Linked DNA regions of Homo sapiens: all the other regions are linked to region 3. Evidence: promoter capture Hi-C in 16 types of primary human blood cells and fetal thymus (Javierre and others, 2016). All regions are on one chromosome and are shown on one strand. The core of a region is centred on a gene start or on the middle of the fragment in contact, and the rest is flanking DNA. Distances in the headings are between cores, read along the strand shown.

The links. The method cuts DNA at HindIII sites, captures the fragments that hold promoters and counts their contacts. A CHiCAGO score of 5 or more calls a contact.
Region 1: a fragment that was not itself captured here is called in contact with the fragment with the promoter of ZNF365 in region 3 in 1 of 17 cell types (neutrophils); the score reaches 5.1 in neutrophils.
Region 2: a fragment that was not itself captured here is called in contact with the fragment with the promoter of ZNF365 in region 3 in 1 of 17 cell types (naive B cells); the score reaches 6.5 in naive B cells.

What each region holds. Positions count from the first base shown.
Region 1 is chr10:61,856,636-61,859,335 of GRCh38, reverse strand. All of the region lies in intron 2 of LINC02625 (long intergenic non-protein coding RNA 2625), which reads left to right. Among named protein-coding and RNA genes, the nearest start is that of LINC02625, 10 kb to the left of the region's middle. The HindIII fragment of the contact is 7,953 bases long and covers 1-2,700 here.
Region 2 is chr10:63,143,601-63,146,300 of GRCh38, reverse strand. NRBF2 (nuclear receptor binding factor 2) reads right to left here. Exons shown (of 4, transcript NM_030759.5): 2 at 8-92. Among named protein-coding and RNA genes, the nearest start is that of NRBF2, 12 kb to the right of the region's middle. The HindIII fragment of the contact is 215 bases long and covers 1,203-1,417 here.
Region 3 is chr10:62,373,078-62,375,777 of GRCh38, reverse strand. ZNF365 (zinc finger protein 365) reads right to left here and starts at 1,409. Exons shown (of 5, transcript NM_014951.3): 1 at 1,320-1,409. It overlaps LOC283045 (a long non-coding RNA gene), which reads left to right and starts at 651. Exons shown (of 4, transcript NR_104162.1): 1 at 651-907. The HindIII fragment of the contact is 2,300 bases long and covers 1-1,770 here.

The DNA of each region.
Region 1 (2,700 bases), core at 124-2,623, 520 kb after region 3:
CAGCACGGACTTTAAGTGAGAACATATGATATTTGGTTTTCCATTACTGAATTACTTCACTTAAAACAATGGTCTTCAGCTCTATCCAAGTTGCTGCAAAAGACATTATTTTGTTTCTTTCTATGGCTGAGTAGTATTCCATGATGTATATTTACCACATTTTCAAAGGGCCATTTCTGATTGATGTCAGCCTTCCAGAAAAGATGTTCCCAGGGAATACAAGGCAATAGCTTTGGGCTTACATTGGCATATTTCACTGGTAGTAATGGTTGCTCACACCACCACTTTTGAAGAGGGATATTGAGAAAGACTAATGTCTGAAGTATCTACCCCACTGAAGCTGAAGTCCACCACTCACTATTGGTTAAGCAAGAAGCTCACTCCCACCTGTAGGCCCTGGGGTCAGAAGACATGGATATGCCACTTCACTCTGTGACTTATAAGCAGTGGGATTGTGAGGAAATCACTTTTCCTCTTCAAACTTTCTCATTTCTGAAATGAGGTTCACACTCCCTGCCCTGCCTAACTCATAAAGTAGCTGCAGGATTCAAGAGATGAAGGGAAAAGGCTTCATTGACAGTAAAATGTCATCTGCCTCTGAACTGCTATTATCTTTCCCTTGTGATATTTTATAGCTCAGTACCACTTCTTCTCCCGAAGACTGCCTCTCATTCCATGGTGGGGCGCTTGCAGGCTCATCAGTATAAATCAGCTTACAAATAAATCTATGAATGCACTCACCCACATCACTCCTTCACTCTCCATAGTAACAAACAGTGTATCATATTTTCTGGCTGAGAAGCATGGAGCAGTGTGTTTGCTTTTTCTCCTTCTCCCAGTGATATCTGCTGGCCCACCCCTACCAGAGATGGTAAAATTCAAAAAGTCACATGACATCAAACAAAAGTGGGAAGGGAAGATCACCTTTAGAGGAGCTCTAGATGAAGACATTTTTTCAGTTTATGAATATAGGAGTAATGGCATTTTGTGTTTAAAAAGGATGCCCACAACAGAATAATTAAAGTAAGATGTTTCAGGAGAGTCATTTTTCAGGAAGAGGAGTTGCTCAGGGCTTCTCTGGCTGTGTAGACAGCAGCCACCACCTACACCTAGATGAGTTGCCTTTCACTTTCTCCTTCAGGATTTTCCTGGAGAGGTGAGACTTCAATGGGAAGGACTATCACAGACCACAATGGGAATGGTGTTTCCTAGAGTCATAACTGCACAACCTTCTAAGGTGGACCCGGAAAGGAAATCACATCAACAGGGAGAAGAGTGGCTGCTCTTGGCTGTCATCAAATGTTAGTTTAGTCTCTAGATGACATTGATTTGTGGTAACAGCTTTGAGTGCTTTACACAGAGTGTGAATGTGGTGTTTGTAAAAATTTGGACTTGATGTCTCACCCTCATGATGCATTCATGAGTTCCGGAAGCCACAGCTCTGACAAATGGCCTTGGTGATAGGCTGGAAAAAGAGTATCCTCCAAGTATTTAGAAGAGTTAACTTGTTTGATACTGGGAACACAAATTTAAAAATAAAAAAAAGACTCATATTTTCAGTGGTCTGGGCATCTCTTGAGTTTTAGATCAAGATCCTCTAGAATAGTTGCACATCTTTTCTTACAACTCAGGCAATTTTGTTTCACTTTATTATATGCTATCTCTTCTAAGCCCAAACCTGTTTCTTCTCACATTCTCCCCATCCCAGCAAATGTCACCCTCACCTACTCAGTTACTCAGAACCTTGGGGTCATCCTTATCTCTTCTCTTTCCTTAGCACCCCATACCTAACCTCTCAGCATTGACTCTCCATCCCATATCTGACCATGTTTTCTCAACTCCACTGCTCCCACCCTAGTTCAAGACATTCTTGTCTCTCTTCTAGAACACAGCCTCTCTACCATTCTCTTGATCCTATTTGTAACTCCCTAATAGCTGCTGTTCTCACAAGAGTCAGAGTGATGTTTAGAAAAACATCTAGAGACATTGTTTGCCATTCACCTCTCAGAACCTTCTAAGGACTATGTCTCAGGGTAACCAAGAGAGAAAAAGTTTCTCTTTATGTAAGTATTTCTGTTAATAAAGAAAGAAGCAGGTGTAGAATTAGAAAACTACTACTTAAACATGTCTAGGTAACAATCCCAATGGCTGCCAAGATCACACATGAAAAGAGACAACTTGAAATAGTGTGTGTATGTACACATACTATGACCCAAGAAGGTTGCTTTTTGTGTGTGAGAATATTAAACCTGAATGTGATCTAGCTTCTAGACCTAATAACCAATTTTGAGGATATACAAGGGATAAAGGTACATAAGAAATGACACAATGGGAATGTACTTAGCAAAATCCAGACTGTGGGAAGTGCTGCAGGACAAATAATTTGGCAAGGGGTGGGGAAAAGAGTAGAGCCAGCTCGTACCTGGTTTTCCAAGACTTTCCTGGTTGTAGCACTGTAAGTATGGAATCTTGAAACCCACCCAGTCCCAGGCAAATTGAAATGGTTCGTCCCAGTCAGGGAGGTGGGAAGGAGAACTCTATAGATTAACAGAGGCTTCAGAGATGCAGAGTTGGATCCTACTTAAATAAAAATTGTGTGCATATAGGGGGCACTGACTAATGGTGATATTAAATAATTAGTTTTACTTATTTATTTTTAAGGTATGATTATAGTATTATGGTCATGCTTTCTTAAAAAAA
Region 2 (2,700 bases), core at 61-2,560, 770 kb before region 3:
TACTCACCTGCAGCCTTTTTGTGACAAGAAATAGCCTCTTCGTATTTGCCTGCAGCTAATAAACGGTCTGCTCGTCTGCTCTGTTGATGAGCCTAGAAGACAAACATCCCTAAGTTCCTCTGGATCATAAAATAAAACATGATTTCTTTCAAAAAGCAACTACCTTTTAAGAAGATAAATAATACTGTTTTGTTGCCACATATCAAATCACTATTACAGCTCTATCTGTAGCTGGGGAAATGTAATGGGTAGAGCCTAGAACTGCAGCATCTGAAAGGAACTGGCAACTTCTTTCACTTCTACCATAAGCCCTCTCAAGGTTAACACCAGGCACTTAACTCCTTCAGTGACTCACATTCTTCCACTCTTTGGAGATAAACCAAGAGTTACAATCATAGATTGTTATTCAAAATGTCTATTTTCTTGATTTTTAACAAGCTCCTTTCAAAACAAGAGCTATTTTGTAGATACTTTCACTAATCTGTATAGTCTAAAAACTATAATCAGGAAATCACTCATCATGTAGTAAAATCCAAGCTTCTCTTCTATCATCTCATTCTTTCAACATTAAAGTTACTATTTGTTTTTAAAATAAAAAATTTGGACATTGCAGTTGATGAATTCATGATACCAACATCTAATATTACAAAGATTGTTTTAAAGATATCTCATCAAAAGAACAAAGTCAAAAAAATCAGAAGTTCTAACAGCAAATAATGTAATTGAAGGAAAACTTATTAAATAAGCAGTCACTGGCCTCCTTACACTTTAATAATTTCAAAAGAGCTTTAAGTCCAGGCACAGTGGCTCATGGCTGTAATCCCAGCACTTTGGGAGGCTGAGGCAGGCGGATCATCTGAGGTCAGGAGTTCAAGACCAGCCTGGCCAACATGGTGAAACCCCATCTCTACTAGAAATACAAAAATTAGCTGGGCGCAGTGGCTCACGCCTGTAATCCCAACACTTTGGGAGGCCGAGGCGGGCAGATCATGAGGTCAGGAGATCGAGACCATCCTGGCTAACAGGGTGAAACACCGTCTCTGCGGGCGCCTGTAATCCCAGCTACTCAGGAGGCTGAGGCAGGAGAACTGCTTGAACCTGGGAGGCAGAGGTTGCAATGAGGCAAGATCATGCCATTGCTCTCCAGCCTGGGTGAAAACAGTGAAACTCCATCTCAAAAAAAAAAAAAAAAAAAAAAAGCTTTAATATACATTATTTCAGCTGCTTTAACTACGACTTTGTTAATGTGTTTTCCTCTCTTACATAAGGAGGCCCAAAAGACTGATGGGGAGGTCGTGTAACTTACATAAGATTATACATTTAACTAGCAAGGAGAAAGGCAGAGATAATCAGCTAAAGTTTTCTACCTCATGTAACGATTTTCCTCAGTAACAAACACACACGATTTAGCAAAGCTTCACAGCTTCACAAAAAAGCAAAAAGCATTGTACACCCATATTCATAACAGCATTATTCACAACAGCCAAAAGGTGAAAGCAATCCAGATGTCCATCAACAGATAGATGGATAAATGCAGTATACACACACAATGGAAAGGTACTGTCTTTAAAAGTAAGGTAATTCTGGCCGGGCGCGGTGGCTCACGCCTGTAATCCTAGCACTTTTGGAGGCCGAGGCAGGCAAATCACAAGGTCAGGAGATCGAGACCATCTTGGCTAACACGGTGAAACCCCGTCTCTACTAAAAATACAAAAAAAATTAGCCAGGCGTGGTGGGGGGCACCTGTTGTCCCAGCTACTCAGGAGGCTGAGGCAGGAGAATAGCGTGAACCCGGAAGGCAGAGCTTGCAGTGAGCCGAGATCGCGCCACTCCACTCCAGCCTGGGTGACAGAGCGAGACTGTGTCTCAAAAAAAAAAAAAAAGGGAAGATAATTCTGACACATACTACAACATGGATGAACTGTGAGGACATTAGACTGAATAAAATAAGCCAGTCATAAAAGGACAAATACTATACAAATCGACTTATTGGGTATCTAAAGTAGTCAAATTCTTAAAAACAGGAAAGTTGAATGGTGGAACAACTCATCATTGAACAGGGGAGGGGGAAATGGGGAGTAGGTATTCAAACGGCATAGTTTCAGTTTTGCAAGATGAAAAAATTCTGGACATTTGTTGCACAACCATGCGAATATACTTAACACTACTAAACTGTACACTTAAAAATAATTAAGAAGGTAAACTTCACGTGTTTTTTACATCACTTAAAAAAGGTAAAAAGTGGCTGGGTGCTGTGGCTCATGCCTATAATCCCAGCACTTTAGGAGGCCAAAGCAGGCAGATCACTCGAGCTCAAGAGTTTGAGACAAGCCTGGGCAATATGGTGAAAACCCATCTCTACAAAAAATACAAAAATTAGCCGGGTGTGGCGCTCGCACCTGTAGTAGTAGTCCCAGCTACTGAGGAGGCTGAGGTAGGACAATCACTTGAGCCTGGGTAATGGAGGCTGCAGTGACCTGTGATCGCACCACTGCACTCCAGTCCGGGCAACAGAGTGAGATCTTGTCTCAAAAAAAAAAAAAAAAAAAAATCGGGCATGGTGGCTCATGCCTGTGATCCCAACACTTGCGGAGGCCAAGGCGGGTGGATCATCTGAGGTCAGGAGTTTGAGACCAGTCTGGCTAACATGGTGAAACCCCGTCTCTACAAAAATTAGCCCAGCAGGATGGTGGGTGCCTG
Region 3 (2,700 bases), core at 160-2,659:
GATGGAAAGTGGTAGATCCAGAAGTGGAATTCAAGTTTCCTCCCCTCCTGAATTTGGCACACTAAATGCAAAACCGTGCCCCATTTTAAGGATACAATCCGAGATGCGTGAACACAAGAACATATGAAAACTCACATGAATTGTCAAAATGGGTCCTAAGACAGCAAGCTCAGGACCTATCCTCAAGTACAGGAAAGATTACTCAAGCTATGCACAGTGGCATTAAGCCTGCAATCAGCTGAAAATTTTTCACCCTGAAATTTTTGCCTTTTTTTCCTTCAGGTATTGCTGTGATGACATAAACCAAAGTGCTAATCGTAACAATAACAGACCCCATACGTGAGTTTCACTGAAACCTGGGGACCCAATGTGTCAAATACCATTTGGCATAAGTGGGGCCATGGCCAAGATTTTTATTATAATAGAGTGTTCTGGACGGATTTGTCTTGTCTCAGATGCTATTTTATATGACAACCTCTAGGGATGGTCAGTGTGTGAACCAGGTAGGTATCAGCATACTCTCTTAATAACAGGAAGTTCTGGTTTCCTTGTAGGAATGCATTATCTTCACCCTAGCAACAGATGACTGTTGGCAACCCAATTCTGCAAGCAGTGCATATCTTCTATTCCTCCATGAAAGGTTTCTACTTAAATGTAACAAGCATTGGACCCGAAATGAGGGAGCCCAGCTGGGGTCTTTGGGTGAAAAGTGTCCTCAACCTCTTCAAAAGCAGAGGTGCAAATGGTCCCCAGGCAGCGAGGCAGGCAAGGCTTCTAGGTGAAGCCCCCGGCCCCCAGAGAGGGGAACCTCTTCCTGTGATGGGTACACCGGGATGTTTAACCACTGGTTTTCTGGGAACGAGATGCAAACCCTGGCTCAGCATAGGGCCAAAGACGCTGACAAGAGGTAAGGAAAGGGGAAGTCAGGATTCTAAGGGGGCAATGGGAAAAGGGTGGCATTTTGGATGGGGAAATGGGTAATCACACACTCCAGAGCACGCAGGCTTTTATGGGCCCAGAGGAAACCCAGTCCACTGGGCTGATGAAGAGCCCTAAGTGACTCTGCCAGAGAAGGGCAGGCTGGCAATGACCCTGCCCCGGGGTCCCAGCTCTCCCCGCCCCCTCTCCGCTGCGTGCCAGCCCACGGGTGCCAGAGTGGATTCGTGTGCACATGAGTTCCTGCTGGTGGGGGCCGGGAAGCCGGCTCTCCCAACTCCCCGCCATGCTGCGGGCTCGGGGACCCCCTCCCCAGCCCCGGCCACCCCGGCAGGTCCCCTCCGCCGAGCCGCGGGCGCAGATGGCCGGCGGCCGCCTCTTACCCGACTTGTTGCTGCTGCTGCTGCAGCCGCCGCCTCCGGTGCTGATGCTGCGGGAGCGAAGCGGTTTTCAGCAGAGCCGTAAATCAGACTGAGCCGGGCCGGCTCCCACTCCCCGCCGCACCTCCGCGCCGGGACCGGCGGCGTCCAGGGCGGAGCGAGGCGCGGCTAGCCAGCGGGGGCGGCGCTCGCGGGCACCGTGGGGCACCGCGCCGTGGGTGCGGGGGTTCCGGAACGCCGCGGCCCAGGGCTGCCACCTCCGCGGGGAACACCCTTGCTCTGCCCAGCTGGCGGGAGCATCATCTGCCCCCCCGCCACCCAGCCGGGAGCCCGATCCGACTCAGGATTACACTGACATCACTGCGAGAGATGCTGGGATCATTCCCCGGGGGAGGGAAGGAAAGACGCGTGTCAGCCTCGCAGTCGCGGCGCTTTCTGCAGGCCCTGGCAAGCTTTTTTGCACTAGTTTGGGGGGAGCGGGAGAGTGTGGATGAGGATGCAGCATAGCTGGGCATCTTCTTTGAAAATCTACCCGTTGGAAGGTCCGGGTATTTAATTAGGACCTCTTCATCCCAAGCAGCAGGGCGAGAATGTCCCAAAATAACTAACCCAGAGAGTACACTCCAGCCTTCCTAGCCAAGTGTCCTGAGGCTACGTTAACAGGCAGAACTAAATCTAGTAAAGTGCAGGGATTAATGAACAAACAGTTAAAGCAACAAGATCCCTCACCTACACCCCCATTTCTGAGGCGGACGCCCCTTTCCCTGGAGAAAAAATTTGTCCTCCTAAAGAGGGGATGTCCTGAAGAGAAGACGGCAAATCATTCCTTCTGAAGGACTCTGATGTCTCAGCTTGCTGGGCTTTTGCTTTTTTTTTTTTTTTTTTTTTTTTTTAACCTGTTTTGGTTTACCCCTACTGTAACTCCTGAAATGTGAAACCTAGATAAAAGTTACTGCTGGGTTTTCTTGTTCAAAGAAGAGAAGAGATTCTGTTCATCTGTAGACAGTTAATGCATCCTCTTGACTTCTCAGGGTGTCTTTTCTCAAGGCTTGCTGTTACTCATTTCAACACCCGATTTTATTTTAACGGTAAAGAGCTCAACAGTTATCTTAGTTGAAATTTTGTTTTGTTTTTGACAAATGAAAACAAATGAATTGCTTTGTTTTTTCACAAATGAATTATCACATCAAATGCAATGAAGATCCCAAGCTCTGGCATCAGACTTGATTCAAATCCTGGTTCTAGGGCCTGGGTCAAGTAACTAGACTTTTCTGTTCCTTCAATTCCTCATCTATGAAATGAAGATAATCAAGACCTACCTCTTAATATAGCGGTGGATCGAATGTGCTATGATGATGGAGGTAAAAACCCTGCCTGACAGGGA